3 separate regions of the Homo sapiens genome follow, and all the other regions are linked to region 2. The links are contacts of gene promoters, found by promoter capture Hi-C in blood cells and fetal thymus (Javierre and others, 2016). All regions are on one chromosome and are shown on one strand. The core of a region is centred on a gene start or on the middle of the fragment in contact, and the rest is flanking DNA. Distances in the headings are between cores, read along the strand shown. Region 1 overlaps ZNF407 (zinc finger protein 407). Region 2 holds the start of SMIM21 (small integral membrane protein 21). Region 3 overlaps ZNF407 (zinc finger protein 407).

Region 1 (2,726 bases), core at 171-2,670, 750 kb after region 2:
CAGTCAGCCTCTGCTCCCGAGTGCCATGAAGGTAACTGTTTTGTCCATTTTACTAAACTGTGGAAAAGACAAAAAGACAGTTTCTTGGATAAACTGATAATCTTTCAGATTACGCTATAAGCCCTCACAAGAGTGTCAGTGGCTTGGAAAAATACCCCAAAGACATAGTGAATCATTATTTTTAAAAAATACTGGCCGGGCACAGTGGCTCACGTCTGTAATCCCAGCATTCTGGGAGGCCAAGGCGGGCAGATCACGAGGTCAGGAGATCGAGACCATCCTGGCTAACACGGTGAAACCCCGTCTCTACTAAAAATACAAAATTACCCGGGCACGGTGGTGGGCGCCTGTAGTCCCAGCTACTCGGGAGGTTGAGGCAGGAGAATGGCGTGAACCCGGGAGGCGGAGCTTGCAGTGAGCCGAGATCCCGCCACTGCACTCCAGCCTGGGTGACAGAGCGAGACTCCGTCTCAAAAAAAAAAAAAAAAATGCTATATCACCCATTCTCTTGGTGGCAAAGAAAACAATATTCTAGGCCGGGACACAGTGGCTCATGCCTATAATCCTAGCACTTTGGAAGGAGAAGGCAGGCGGATTGCCTGAGCTCAGGAGTTTGAGACCAGCCTGGGCAACACAGTGAAACCCTGTCTCTACTAAAACACAAAAAATTAGCCGGGCGTGGCAGCATGCATCTGTAATCCCAGCTACTCAGGAGGCTGAGGCTGAGGAATCGTTTGAACCCAGGAGGTGGAGTTTGCAGTGAGCCGAGATCGTGCCACTGTACTCCAGCCTGGGTGACAGAGCAAGATTCCATCTCCAAAAAAAAAAAATTCTAAGAGGAAGCACAGGCATCAAAAAAATGTAAGTTGAAAAGTGATTCAGAAGTAGTAGAACTTGAATGTAGACTTGTTTTATTTTCTTTTTATACATGCAGAAGCATAATATATTTTTAAACTACCTAAATGATGTGTAAAACAACTTTTTTTATATATAAAATAAAAATTCTAATAGGAAAACAACAACAATGAAGGCTTTAAACGTCTATAGGTTTGAAAGGTCTACAGAGTTAAATGCTTGATAACAATGGTGTAGTCACTGGGAGGGAAATGAGTGGGATTCAAGTGTTCAAGATCCTCGAATTGTCGGAAAGAGGGTAAAAGTACCACTTAATATTAAACATGGATAAGTCAAGGATAATGGTGTAATTGCTAGGGTAACCATTAAAACCAAAAAGGGTATATAACTTCAAAGCTAACAGCGTAACAGGAACTAAAATCAGAAAAGCTATGCAATAAAAGGCAAAAAAGGAAAGACAGCACAGAAAAGACAGAAAGCTTTCTCTCCTTTTTACACGTCCTCTTACAATACTCTGCTTTATATTACTTTTCTTTGTTTGACTCTACTACTTATTTTAGATGCCTGTCTCTGTGTGTTCTTCCCAATATCTGGAACACATAAAAAATACATTCATTTATTCATTCGCCACAAACAGTAAGTGAAGCTTACTATGAGGGAGGATACTGCTTAAGAGGCTAAAGAAAGGAAAATGCACAAAGTTCTTACTCTTAAGGAACTTACACTCAAGTGGGAGAGACTGACAATAAAGAAGGAAATAAATATACAAAGTACTTTTTCGGTAAGTGATCTATGAAGAAACATAAGAGGTTAAGTGATGAGTGGCTGGTCAAGAAAAGGCAACTGAACCTACACCCAAATGTTAACAAAGAGCCAGCAGAGACAGAGAAAGCATAAGTATAAAGGCCCCTCAGGCAGAAACATGCTTGGCAACTTCAAGGGACAGATAAGGCCAACAGAGTAGTGAGCAGTTAGTGAGTAGAGAGTGACAGGAAATGCAAGAAAAGTTTTGGGACACAAATAAGGGATTCTATTTGGACCATATTAAGTTTGAGACATCTTCAGAAAACACAAACCAACATTTCAAATAAGCAATAAAATGCACAAGTCTGGTGCCCAAAGAAAAAAACTCAAGACTAGAGATATACATTTGGTGATTAGTCACAGAGACACTTTTTAAAGCCATGTTATTAATGGACACTACCCAGCGAGGGGGTATGGATCAGAAATTACCTAACTACAACATTCAGCCAAATCCTGTCAGCCACCCATCTTCGTAAGCAGAAACATAGCCACACTAACTCATTTACACATTGCCTATTGCTGTTTCACTAGAGGAATAGAGCTATCTGGCCTTTGTCAGAAAAGTTTACTAATCCCTGGTGTAAGCAGACAAGGGATGGATCCCAGAGCCAAGCCCTGGGGTAGTTCAACATTTACAAGTTAGGTAGAGATAGTGGTAGAGGTAGTGAAGAAGCAGAAAATAAGACTACAAAGAGAGATATAATAAACAAAACCAAAATAATACCAGGATACTATGGTGTCAGAGAAGCCATGAAAAAAGTATTTTAAGGACAAAGTGGGCAAAGGTATTGATCATTGACCACTTGATAACAGAGAATTTGGTAAGATGAAGATATTTGGTAATGTGTTAATATATTTTCAGAGAACAGTGGGCTGTAAACCAGCTACAGGATGACAGAGGTAGGGACCTGATCTGCAAACTTTGACAACTTTCATGATGTCAGCACTCCCAATTTCAAGCTATAAAGTCCTGGATCTCTAACAAGTGGTTCTCACGAGCCACCACAGCCATATGCTCCAGCTCCAGCACAGCACTGGTTTCAGCGGAGTGGCAGGCAAAGGCCTGA
Region 2 (2,700 bases), core at 82-2,581:
TGAGGTCTCTTTCCACCCCCTACACCCCACTGTCTTTTAGCAGCTGGAAGTTTAAGGCCTGTGGGAAATTGAAGATTAATTTTTAGTCAGTGTTTTTTTTTTCTCTTTTCTTTAAATCACCAACTCTGAGAATTCTAGATGTTACTCTGCATATGTGTGCTCCACAACTATCAACTTTCACAATTTGGGATCTGCTACAAAACGGGCTTCCGAGCTCCCTTCCTGTCCCTCCACACAGGTCTCAAGCCTCCTCTGTCTCTGCTCCCTCTGCACGTTTCTGCCTTTCCCTTGTCCATGGCCTTGGTGGGACCCACCATTTTTTGCTCTTCTTTCTAGAGAATGAGTCTTGTCTCCAACTAGATGGGAAAAACCACTCAGGACAAGACCATCAGAACAGCACTGGGCTACTGATTTGTATGCTGTGCATATGGTCACTGTTCACATAATAACAGGTATTTTCTTAGTCATACTGTGCGTCAAGCACAGTGCATACTGTCCTGGGCATTTTTACTCAACACCAACACTGTGGAGCACCCATCATGAGCTTCTGTAGGCTGGGACTCACAACTATGTGCATCTCTCTTCATCAGGCACCTTGTCAAAAGCCATCCACACTATGGGGATAACGCTGCAAGTATTTGGTGAACGTGTGTGTGTTAAGTACCACTTAATTTTCCGCTCATTGGGCACCATTTACAAACAGTGGAAGATCTGTGAAAATTCCCATGAGGCAGCACAGCAGCATCCAGAGGCCACCACACACGTCTCATGGCTACTCTCCACCCTGCGATGATGGTCTGCACAGCGCTTCTTCCTGGGGTAGCTCCCAAGTAACCTCCATTCAGCTTTCCTCCTGCTGTTCCATGGTGCTTGTCTTCCAGCAGAATCTCTCTCACTTTAACAATTAAATGGACAACCCAGGAAACCTACACTTGGAATTCAGCGAAAGAAATGTTAGTCTCCTGTGGAGTGTCTCATTAGGTTAAAAGAAAGTTACTGAAAAGTCTGATGGGAAAATGAATTTCTACATTTTGCTTAGGGCCCAAAAAGAATCCCAGATTTTATTTCCATTGAAGTGCATATAGTAGTATTTATTTTGATTCAGGGAGATGCGGTTCATTTTTAATATTCACAAAAGCTTCTTGACATCAGATCCAAAGCTTGTGCTGTGGAGATATGGTTGAACATTCTCACACAGCATCACTGAGCCAGAGAGCAACCTGAGAAACCTCAGAACTCCATGTGCGGGAAGATTCCATCCGACTTCATAAAATAATACCTGGACCTGAGAACTCTACATGTGGGAAGATTCCATCCAGCTTCATAAAATAATACCCAGATCTTCAAGGTTGGCAAAGAAGAGAAAAGCTCCTTGGGAACTTAGTTACCAGGTCTTATAGCACCAGCTCTGTGTCCTCAGAGTCGCTGTCATCAAGGAGACCTCTCACTGGTCACCGCCGCAGCCCCCACATGGACCAGTATGTGTCCACAGCTCCTCCCCGATTCCCTATAGCACAGCTGGGAACATTTAAACAAGACTCTGCAGGAATGGGACGGATATTCAAGGGGAATTTGCTGCAGAAGAAAGCACTTACCACAGTGAGTTTATGGGTCTTTAACTTTGGGTTATGAGAGAGACGTATCACTGCACAGGTATGGTCCTACAAAGCACTCTTTTGCCCCAATCTCCTGTGAGTGCTCTGTCTCTCAAATCCAGATTCTACGAAGTTTAAGATGAGACGTCAATCCAGAGCTCTTTCTTTCTCAGTTCTGGCCAAGACAACCTCCCAATTCCAATTCCCAATCTGAGGAAGAGCTGCCCCTTTCAGAAAAGGTACTGGGCCCTCCCCTTGACATTACATCAGTATACAGGCCAATGAGTCAATGATCTCTCCCCTACAGAGAGAGCCTCTTAACACAGATGCAAGGATACCTCCAAATGCTTTAAGCCTAGGTGCACCTGCAACACCTACAAACTCAACCTACCCAGACAAATTTGATACTGCACTCCTAGAAGAAAGTTTCTTTTCCTTCATTACAGGACAGAAGCAAAAGTTGCAACAAATTTAACCATTCATGAACCAGTAGCCAATGTGCAGGCAACAGATGGCATTTATAGACACCCCATTTGCAGAGGTGATGGGGTGATCAATAGCTTCTGAAAAGGAAGTTTATGACCCAGTCATATATCGGAAAGGTTAAAGTCCTAAGACAAAATTTCTGGAATGTCTTCTCCTGTAGCACAGGGTTCCTCTTAGTGTTTCTGACTGTGAAGAGGAGATGGATGGGAGCAGGCAGGTAGCATCTCCTTCCTCTGTCTTGATCCCCACTGCTGCTTCTTTATTTCCTTTTCCTTTTTCCATTTTTTTTTTTTTTTTTTTTTTTTTTTTTTTTTTTTTTTTACATTTTAAAAGTAATGGTCTAGGGCCGGGTGCAGTGGCTCATGCCTGTAATCTCAGCACTTTGGGAGGCCGAGGCGAGGAGATCACAAGGTCAGGAGATTGATACTATCCTGGCTAACACAGTGAAACCCCATCTCTACTAGAAATACAAAAAATTAGCCAGTCGTGGTGGCGGGCACTTGTAGTCCCAGCTACTTGGGAGGCTGAGGCAGGAGAATGGTGTGAACCCGGGAGGCAGAGCTTGCAGTGAGCCGAGATTGTGCCACTGCACTCCAGGCTGGGTGACAGAGCGAGACTC
Region 3 (2,700 bases), core at 180-2,679, 780 kb after region 2:
CAATGCTATAACATTGAAGTTACAATGAATATTTAACAATCCAACGACTAACTACTCCAGCAGAGTTTTCAAAATAATGTGATGTCCCTATTTGTTAGAGCAAGTTCACTCTGGCATCAATTAAATCATGAACTGTCATCTTGATTGCTCTCTTTGTTGAGGGACAGCACATTTCCATCTAAGGATCACCTCGGCTTTATATCTCTGCAAGACAATTCATAATTCTGAGCAGCAGAATGAATGCACAAATTACATTCTTCAACCTTTTACTCCCACTAAATCTTTCCTTTTTTCCACTTTGCTGAGCCTGAATATTTTATTCCTCCATCAAATATGCATCCCATTAATTAAGTTAAATTACTTCTGACTGCCAAATATTCTCTGTCGATGACTGTCAACAGAAAATACATGGCTGTGAACTTCTAATGACACAGTCTCGCTTAAACATGAGTTACAACCTTCACGCAGGCATCTACAGGCAAATTATCGGCCTCTTCTTCAAAACCGGGCTGAAATTAAATGCTGGTTTCTTTTTCTTCAGCTTTTAACAAGTACACAATAGATGACACTCGTACTTGACAAAGCAAGTACTGCAATTTTAATTATATACCTTTTCCTCATCTTTTAATTGCTGTTGTTAATCAGTCATTAACTTCTTCCCAAAGTGCAAGATTCTTAAATCTCCTTCAAAACATTTCGGCTCAATAAATTCCATCGCTCTTCATAACTAACATATAATTTTGTCTATTTTTAAAACTGTCATTTTCCAAACAGGGTATTTTTAATGTGCTCTTTAAGGATGACAGTAACAGGGTTTTAATCATAACTTGCATAAAATTATCACTCTCTAACACATCAAGACTAAAACAACCCAGAAAGACTTAAATGGGTTGTTTAAGAATAATTTTGTAACATAAACACCAAAATTTCTATCTTTACCCTTGAGCTACAGTCCCACCAAGCTAAGGGGGGAAATATTATATTTATATATAGATAGATAGATAGATAGACACACACACACATATATAGCAATTTCTTGCCCCCTCCACTACAGAAATGGAAATGTAGTTCTCAATAATTTATTATGCTCTCTATCACAGTATAATCATTAGTGCAAAAATATTTAATTACAGTGAAACTGTTATGACATTACTATAAAGCCAGTAAATTTTTTTCTACACCTTAAGATAATGTGTTCTTTGGGGTAACAAACAATATTCCCGTGGCCCACCCCTTCCATGAATACTTCAAAAATGCCACCTAGGCCCTATGTAAGTGTTCTCTGTCTCTCTCACAAAGAGAACCTGCAAAGTCTGTGAGTTTGCCTGTTTCATACATGAGCCCACCCTAAAGTGTATGACCAAGTGCAGACCCCTGTCAACCAAACTACCTAGAAAGAGTGACTAACAGGATGTCTGCTGAACTACACCAACACAGCAGTCATCAACCTAACTTGTCTGTGGATGCAGAAAGGTGCTCCGTTTCTCTCAATGTTTACAAGTCTCTAAATCTCAATGGGGCTTCTTTTGAAGTACTGCAGCAATTCAAAACAAAGAAATTGTCAGTCTTTGCATCCCTTAAAGTGACTAGGCAGGAGTGCTACATGATGCAGACTAAGTAAGCACCAACAATTGTAAACGATACCATGCACAGAGACCATATAGTCCATCAGATACTAGCTGAAAAGGAACTTTTCAGCTAAGAACTAAGAGACAGCAGGGAGGGGTGGCAGGGGAAATAAAATTATTCTGCCAATGGGCACTAGTCAAACAGACTATGACAAAGACATTTTCGATTATTTGTTCCTAATACAAAATAAAGTGAAATGCTATTTTTGACAATCCAGCTGATTTTAGATATAATTCACATTGCCCATGTTCTATCATCTTAAGGAAAAGAGAAAACAGTTGCCTCACAATGAATACCCAAATTGCTTGTGTATCTTCATCACTTAATAGTTAATTCTATCCTTTGATAGAAGTGACCATCTAAACTCAAAAGGAATTATAATAGATTCACCACTGTTGGTTACTGAAACTAGAGTTCCCACGTTTGGCACTCAGAAAATGTTTGAAAATGAATGGACGAATGTTGATCAATTAATTAACTTTGCTGCTTAAACCTGTGTCCATTATTTCCCTTGTTAAAAAGAATGGTAGCTAAAAATAGTGAGACTGAAAAGTTTAAGAGCTACATTAAAGCTAATTAGAATGCCAGTGGGATAAAATAGAAACAGCCCTGACCCGAGAGTCACAAGTCCTGGGTTCTTGTCTCCATTTGTGAAAAGTCACTTAAGCTCTTGACCCAAATTTCTTTACCTGTCCACTAGATGGATTGGACCAGGCAACAGTGTAAGTTCTAAAACCCTATTTTTAAAATAAATTTTAGTGGTGAATACTAAAATGTCTTTAATATTTAAACACATTCCAATTTTTCAGACTAGCACAAATTTATGTTGTGAAGCATTTGACTATCAATGTCCCTAGCCACAATGTAAAAAATCATACTTATTTTCTAATATTATAATGATAATTACCAGATGTGTTGACATAAGACCACTTTCACCTATTTCACTTACAGCAGCACTTCTAAAATAGACTAGAGACCATCTTACATTTAGCCAGATTTTATAAGAATTTTCCAGTACCCCATTAACACATGTAATGGTGACAGCGTAATTATGATGCAAATTAACACTTT

What was found. The method cuts DNA at HindIII sites, captures the fragments that hold promoters and counts their contacts. A CHiCAGO score of 5 or more calls a contact.
Region 1: a contact is called between a fragment that was not itself captured here and the fragment with the promoter of SMIM21 in region 2, in 2 of 17 cell types (non-activated CD4 T cells and naive CD8 T cells). The highest score is 5.7, in non-activated CD4 T cells.
Region 3: a contact is called between a fragment that was not itself captured here and the fragment with the promoter of SMIM21 in region 2, in 2 of 17 cell types (M0 macrophages and M1 macrophages). The highest score is 7.8, in M0 macrophages.

The regions. Positions count from the first base shown.
Region 1 is chr18:74,674,201-74,676,926 of GRCh38, reverse strand. The region is part of intron 3 of ZNF407 (zinc finger protein 407); the gene reads right to left. Among named protein-coding and RNA genes, the nearest start is that of ZNF407, 78 kb to the right of the region's middle. The HindIII fragment of the contact is 167 bases long and covers 1,337-1,503 here.
Region 2 is chr18:75,426,334-75,429,033 of GRCh38, reverse strand. SMIM21 (small integral membrane protein 21) reads left to right here and starts at 1,331. Exons shown (of 3, transcript NM_001037331.3): 1 at 1,331-1,599. The coding sequence starts at 1,471. LOC105372200 (a long non-coding RNA gene) reads right to left here. Exons shown (of 4, transcript XR_935636.3): 4 at 2,373-2,700. The HindIII fragment of the contact is 2,673 bases long and covers 1,163-2,700 here.
Region 3 is chr18:74,649,246-74,651,945 of GRCh38, reverse strand. All of the region lies in intron 3 of ZNF407 (zinc finger protein 407), which reads right to left. Among named protein-coding and RNA genes, the nearest start is that of ZNF407, 53 kb to the right of the region's middle. The HindIII fragment of the contact is 4,748 bases long and covers 1-2,700 here.